2 separate regions of the Homo sapiens genome follow, and region 1 is linked to region 2. The links are contacts of gene promoters, found by promoter capture Hi-C in blood cells and fetal thymus (Javierre and others, 2016). All regions are on one chromosome and are shown on one strand. Each heading gives the region's core, a stretch centred on a gene start or on the middle of the fragment in contact. The rest is flanking DNA. Distances are from core to core; before and after follow the strand shown.

What was found. The method cuts DNA at HindIII sites, captures the fragments that hold promoters and counts their contacts. A CHiCAGO score of 5 or more calls a contact.
Region 1: a fragment that was not itself captured here is called in contact with the fragment with the promoter of GBX2 in region 2 in 1 of 17 cell types (neutrophils); the score reaches 5.3 in neutrophils.

The regions. Positions count from the first base shown.
Region 1 is chr2:237,109,760-237,113,022 of GRCh38, reverse strand. No RefSeq gene overlaps it. Among named protein-coding and RNA genes, the nearest start is that of COPS8, 26 kb to the right of the region's middle. The HindIII fragment of the contact is 1,948 bases long and covers 450-2,397 here.
Region 2 is chr2:236,167,004-236,170,120 of GRCh38, reverse strand. It overlaps GBX2 (gastrulation brain homeobox 2), which reads left to right and starts at 1,735. Exons shown (of 2, transcript NM_001485.4): 1 at 1,735-2,672. The coding sequence starts at 2,150. It overlaps GBX2-AS1 (GBX2 and ASB18 antisense RNA 1), which reads right to left and starts at 2,679. Exons shown (of 2, transcript NR_186035.1): 1 at 2,452-2,679. LOC124906126 (a long non-coding RNA gene) reads right to left here and starts at 1,095. Exons shown (of 2, transcript XR_007088136.1): 1 at 737-1,095; 2 at 325-592. RefSeq lists an enhancer at 2,604-3,117. The HindIII fragment of the contact is 5,712 bases long and covers 934-3,117 here.

The DNA of each region.
Region 1 (3,263 bases), core at 174-2,673, 940 kb before region 2:
CCCAGTGGTGATATTACAAGTCCATTCATTCTACATCTGTTAGTTGGAACTGTTCTTCAGTGCTATTTATTTGTTTATATCCATATGGAATAATGAATTCTTATGTAATTGAACAGGTTATAATCCTTAACTATCATTTATTTTGATGCTCAATCTGTCCCTAATTTGGCCAGACAGATCCCCTTTCAAGCTGGCTCTAGTGTCCTGTTAGTATGTCTTCCAATTCTTTAAGTTCCTCCTTGCTTTCTGGCACAAGCTGTTTTAAGCGGTTCTCTACTTACAGACCTGAAACCAACTATTTCTCCAAGGAGTCCTGTGTCCTTTTAAAGAAATAGCCTTGGTTTCATTGATTTTATTAATTGTAAGGTTTTTATGTTGCTTATTTCTGTTCGCTTCTTTATCTGGGGCTTAATTTGCTCTTCTTTTTCTAAGTTCTTAAGATAGAAGCTTAGATAACTGATTCTAGATTTTATTTTAATAAAATAAGCATTTTAAAACATGAATTTCACTCCAAGTAGGGCTTTAATCCCACAAATTTTGTTATGGCTGTTTTGATTTTCATTCATTTCAAAATATTTCCTCGTTATCCTTGTAATTTCTTCTTTCACCCATGGGTTATTTAGAAGTACATTTTAAAATTATTGAATATTTGGGGATTTAAAATATATCTTCTGCTATTGATTTCTAATTTAATCCTGTTATAATCAGAGAACACATAATGCATGATTTCTAACCTTTTAAATGTATCGACACTTGCTCTGTGGCCCAGCATATGGTTTATCTTTGTGAATGTGTTATTCTGCTGTTGTTCGGTGGAGTGTCAAGTAGGTTTGCATGGTAATAGTGTTGATCATGTCCTCTATATCCTTATGTATTTTCTAATGTTCTGTTAATTACTGAAAAAGAAGTATTAAAATATCCAACTGTAATTGTGGCTTTGTTGGTTTCTCTTTTCAGTTCTATCAGCTTTAGATTCATGTATATTTGAAGCTCTGTTGTTGGAGGCTTATACATTCCGGATTATTATGTCTTCCTGATAAACAGGCCACTTTATCATTTTGAAAGGTCTCTCTTTATCCTTTGTAACATTCCTTGTTCCAATATTGACTTCATCTGATATCAACATAGCCACTCCATATTTCTTCTGTTTAGTGTTTCCATGACATATAATTTCATTTATTTTACTTGTAACCTCTTTTTAAGTATAACAGATTTCTTGTACACAGAATATAATTGGGTCTTGCATTTTTAGTCAGTATGACAACCTCTTTTTGGTTAGAGCGTTTGTAATTATTCATATGATAGTTTTAAATCTCTCATCATGCTATTTGTTTTCTGTTTGTTTCATCTTAGTTCCTTTCCCCCTCACTTCTTGCCTTATTTTGAATGGAATGTTTTTTAAATTATTATTTCATCTATATCCACTATTGGACTTATTTGTTATATCTATGTTTTCTTTACTGGTAGTTATTCAAGAGCAGTGAGGTCCAATAGAATTTTCAGTAATGATGGAAATGTTCTATATTTATGCTCTCAAATATGGTAGCCACATGTGACTACTGAGCATTTGATATGTAGTTGGTGCCACTGAAAAAGTGAATAATTAATTTTATTTCATTTTCATTAATTAAAATTTAAATTTAGTCAGTTGTGGCTAGTGGCCACCATATTGGACATTTCACGCTAGGCTTCAATATCTTTTCCTTATTATAATTTAACTTTACTGTATTTTACCACTTACTATATAAGACCATTACAAAAGTATATATCCATTTCCCTCTTCAATTCTTTGCACTATTGTTGTCATATATTTTACCTTTACATATTAAAAATCCTACATTATTTTTGCTTCAAATAGCTATCTTTTAAAGCAATGAAAAAATAAAGACATTTTACCCACATATTTACTATTTCTGATGTTCTTTATACCTTCATATAGATCTAAATGTATCTGATCTGATATGATTTTATTTCAGTTGGAAGAACTTCCTTTAACATGTATTTCAGTGCAGATCTCTTGTTGATGAACTCTTTAAGTTTTTGTTTGTCAAAAAAAAAGTTGTTTTTTTCCTTTGACCTTAATTTTTCAGGACATTTTTACTGGCTTTAGAATTCTAGTTTGACAGTTGTTTTCTTTTAGGCCTTTAAAGATGTCATTCCATTATCTCATTGCTGTAAATTCTTATCTTTCTTTTTATGTAATGTGTCTCCGCCTACTCTAAGATACAGCAACTCCTTTAAAATTTTAAAAAAAATTTTTATCGGTTGTCCAGCAATTTTATGATGTATTTTGTACAACATATGTGTGTGTTTATTCTAGTTAGCATTGATTGAACTTCTTGGATCTGTGAGATTATGTACTATTCATCAAATTTTTGGCTAATTCTTCAAAAAGCTTTACTTCATCTTAGCTTGTGGGGACTCTAATCACACTTGCATTAGACCTCTTGATATTAATCCACTCATTTTTAATTCTTTCTTTTCCTCTAAACTTCCTCTGAGATATATCCTGTTCCTTATAATTCATTGATATTTTCTTCTGTAGGGTCTATTCTGACATTAAAACAATCCAGAGAAATTTTCATTTCAGATCTTGTATTTTTTTAATCTGTAAAAGTTTCACCTTGGTCTTTTATATCTCTTCTATTTCTATACTCATTGTGTTTATGTTTTCCTTTATATCCTTAAACACTTAAAGTATATTCATCATATCTGTTTTATCATCTCTGTTTGCTATTTCCATCATTCCTTTCATTTCTGTGTCTGTTTCTAGTAAGTGATTTTTCTCCTAGTTATAACATTTTTCTTATTCACATAATGTCTAATAATTTTTTATTTGTTGTTGAGCATTGTGAGGTTAGGTTGTAGAGTGCTGAATTTTGAAGTATGTCTTCAAAGAGTGTTGCAACCAATTATGTAACTTGTGGATTTAGCTGTTTTGAAGCTCTTTTAAACTTTTGTACAGAAGATCTATATTTACCTTTAATTTAGGGCTAATTTAGCCCCACTACTAAGGTGTGGCCCTTCTGGAGTCTCTAGTGAACACTCCATTTAGTCAATGAGGTCTTCTTACTATAGATGAAGGGATCTTGAATGATTTCTAGCTCTTTGTTAATTTTTTTTTCTCATAGTTTTCCAGTAATTGTTCTTTCCTTGGAAGCTATTCTTGCCCACCTCATGGGATTTCACCCTACACATGAGCAGACTGGCACTCAACCAAAGACTCAAGCAGATGTCTATGCAAATATATACAACTATTTCTC
Region 2 (3,117 bases), core at 486-2,985:
CCGCCTGCTGCCGGAGCGATCTATTACTGCGGCCTGGAGTGGGGAAACGCGATCGAGACGTCTTTGTCCGGGTGGTGGTAGGGAGGGAGGAGGCGAGGAGGAGGAGAGGGCTGGCGGCGGACCAGCGAGTTTTCCCAGCGTCCCGGGGCGCCAAGGACACACCCTCCCCTCTTTCCTCCAGGTCTGCTGGGTGGGCAGTGGGTCTCCGGCGGGACTCCTGGCAGAGGAGCTGATCTGGGATTAAGACGTCCCCCGGGGGGCCTTGGGGCTAGAGCGAGAGAAAGAGGAAGAACGCGAAAAAAGAGCTTCAAAGAATCGGGTCGATAAATTCATAAAGATCGATTTATCTTTATCTCCCAATTAAATGTGCTTGTAAGTGATACATAACACACGTCCAACACGGGCCAACTCCCCAACCACTAGCTCCTCGGCGTGAGCTGATTTTTAATGACCGAACTAACAATGCCCTTCTTTCCTTCTCCCCAACCCGGTGCTGTTGGCGGTTCAGGGCTGACGTCTAGACCCGGGAAGTTGAAGCCCGGGCCTTGGAGACTCGAGGAAGCCCCGCTCGCGCTGGTGCGCTCTGCACGGTCTGCCGTTGTCAAGAAGTGATTCCATTTTTAAAGGGAAGACAAGAGCTGAAAGTTTTTTGTTTGAAAATGGAAGAGGGGATAAGTACGTCCCTAGTTTCCCTCCACCCCAAAATTCCCTTACTTTCAAATTTGGGGGTCTTTACCGTTGTCGAGAACAGGGGAAACATCCTGAGGGGATCGGCTCCATCCTGCAGTTAGCAAAGAGGAACCGCGCGCCCTCGAGTCCTCGCGCTGGAAACCGGGCGGCGGCGCCAGGGTGAGCACTCCTTGCGTTCGCAACGTGCTTAATTAGCGCCTATTTACAAAACGCAGCTTTTATTTGAGCAAACATCATAAAGCTTTCATCAGGATAATCTCACGTTATACAATCTGGAGGCACAGCAACTCCCCCCTTCCTCCCCGAGGATGGAGCAGATAAAGGACTCTCTTTATTATCATAATTATCGTGGTTGTTATTTTGGTGCGCGCTGGCAAAGTGTGTAAATAGGTGCGATGATTAAGAATGTCATGAAAAATGAGAGACGGGATCGCTCACGGGAGGGCCCAGCCCGGGATGGGGGAAGCAGCAGCCTCCCCGCCCCACCCGGTGCGCGGACCTACAGCGAGCAACCCGGCGGGTTTCTGGCGGCGGGCAGGCGCTGCCAGCTCCCAGCCTTCGCCCCGGGGGTGGCTCCGGAGGGGCAGGACCCTGCCCCCAACTCCAGGACCCTCGCCCGGACCCCAGGCGCAGCCGGAGCACCCAGCGCTGGAGTGAGCCGCAGGCAGGTTGGTTCCATGGCAAATACAGTAAAAGAAATAAAGCGCCCCCGGCCCAGCCGTGGGGGTGCGGGCCCCGGAGGCTACCCTTCGAGGTGGCCTCGACAAGGCTGCAGGGCCCCAAGGTCCGAGCCTTGGAGGTGCCATCCGCCCGTCTCAAGTTTGCGCGGCACGGGCTAGGCATGCAGGCTCCGGCTCCCCGGCCCGCGCGCTCCGACGGTGGCGCCCGCAGCCCGCTCGAGGCCAGCTTGGGTGGAAAGGGCGGGGCCCCGCTTTCGCCCCACCCCCGCCCCGCTCAGCCAATGGCCAGAGGCGCCCAGCCCCACGTGAGGCGAGCCGGGCCAGGCGGCAGGCAAAATGTGAATGAGAAAGAGGAGCGCGATTTAAAGGTGCTGGCTGCGCCCGCCGGAGATAAGTACGCCGGCTTCGCGCGCTCCCCAGCGGCCCGCGGGAGGCGACGGACGGCGGGACGGACGGACGGACGGCAGCTTACCGGGGCCGAGGGCCAAACCCGCGAAGCGCGCGGGCTCCGACGGGCAAGCGGCGGACGGGGGCTCCGGCGAGCCCTCGGGGCCCGGGCGCCCTCTCCACTCCGGGGCGCACGGCCTCACCCCGCACACCCCCTGCACCCGCCCGGCATGCAGCGGGCCCAGGACTGAGGGGCGGAGGCGTCTGCTCTCCGGGTCCCGCTCGGCCCCTGCCCGGCGCTCCCGGCGGTGCTCCCGGCGTCCGGCGGGCTTCCCGGCGGCGGCGCGGCGCGGGGACTTTTCGCCTCTCGCTGGCCTCTACCGAGCGCGTCTATGAGCGCAGCGTTCCCGCCGTCGCTGATGATGATGCAGCGCCCGCTGGGGAGTAGCACCGCCTTCAGCATAGACTCGCTGATCGGCAGCCCGCCGCAGCCCAGCCCCGGCCATTTCGTCTACACCGGCTACCCCATGTTCATGCCCTACCGGCCGGTAGTGCTGCCGCCGCCGCCGCCGCCGCCGCCCGCGCTGCCCCAGGCCGCGCTGCAGCCAGCGCTGCCGCCCGCACACCCTCACCACCAGATCCCCAGCCTGCCCACAGGCTTCTGCTCCAGCCTGGCGCAGGGCATGGCGCTCACCTCTACGCTCATGGCCACGCTCCCCGGCGGCTTCTCCGCGTCGCCCCAGCACCAGGAGGCGGCAGCGGCCCGCAAGTTCGCGCCGCAGCCGCTGCCCGGCGGCGGTAACTTCGACAAGGCGGAGGCGCTGCAGGCTGACGCGGAGGACGGCAAAGGCTTCCTGGCCAAAGAGGGCTCGCTGCTCGCCTTCTCCGCGGCCGAGACGGTGCAGGCTTCGCTCGGTGAGTCGGCGGCGCGCGCAGCCGGGACGAGGGGGCGGGAGGAGGCGGGGGCGGGCCAGCGCCGGGTTCCCGCGGGAGACCAAGGGGGCGAGGCCGCGCCCCCGCTCGACCCCCGCGGGAGGAGCTGGAGGATGAGGCCCGGCTGTGCCGCTGGGCCTCCGGGGGACATTCAGAGCCACCCAACAAGCGGGGTCTCGGGAGGGGGGGCGTTTAGCGCCCGGCGACCAGCTGCTGCCCTGGGCCACATATCTATCTGACGATGCGTTTGGCCGAGGCCGCCTCTGCCGCTCCGCGGTGACCTGGGGTTCCGGGTAGGTTGCAGCCTCTAGGGGAGACGGGTTGGGCTGCGCGTCTCAGCCGTGCGTGTGCCCAGGGGCGCCCAGACTTTTTAAACCCCTTCGCTGGTCTTGCTACTTGTCTGGGAGAAACGGACTGCTGGGAGGCT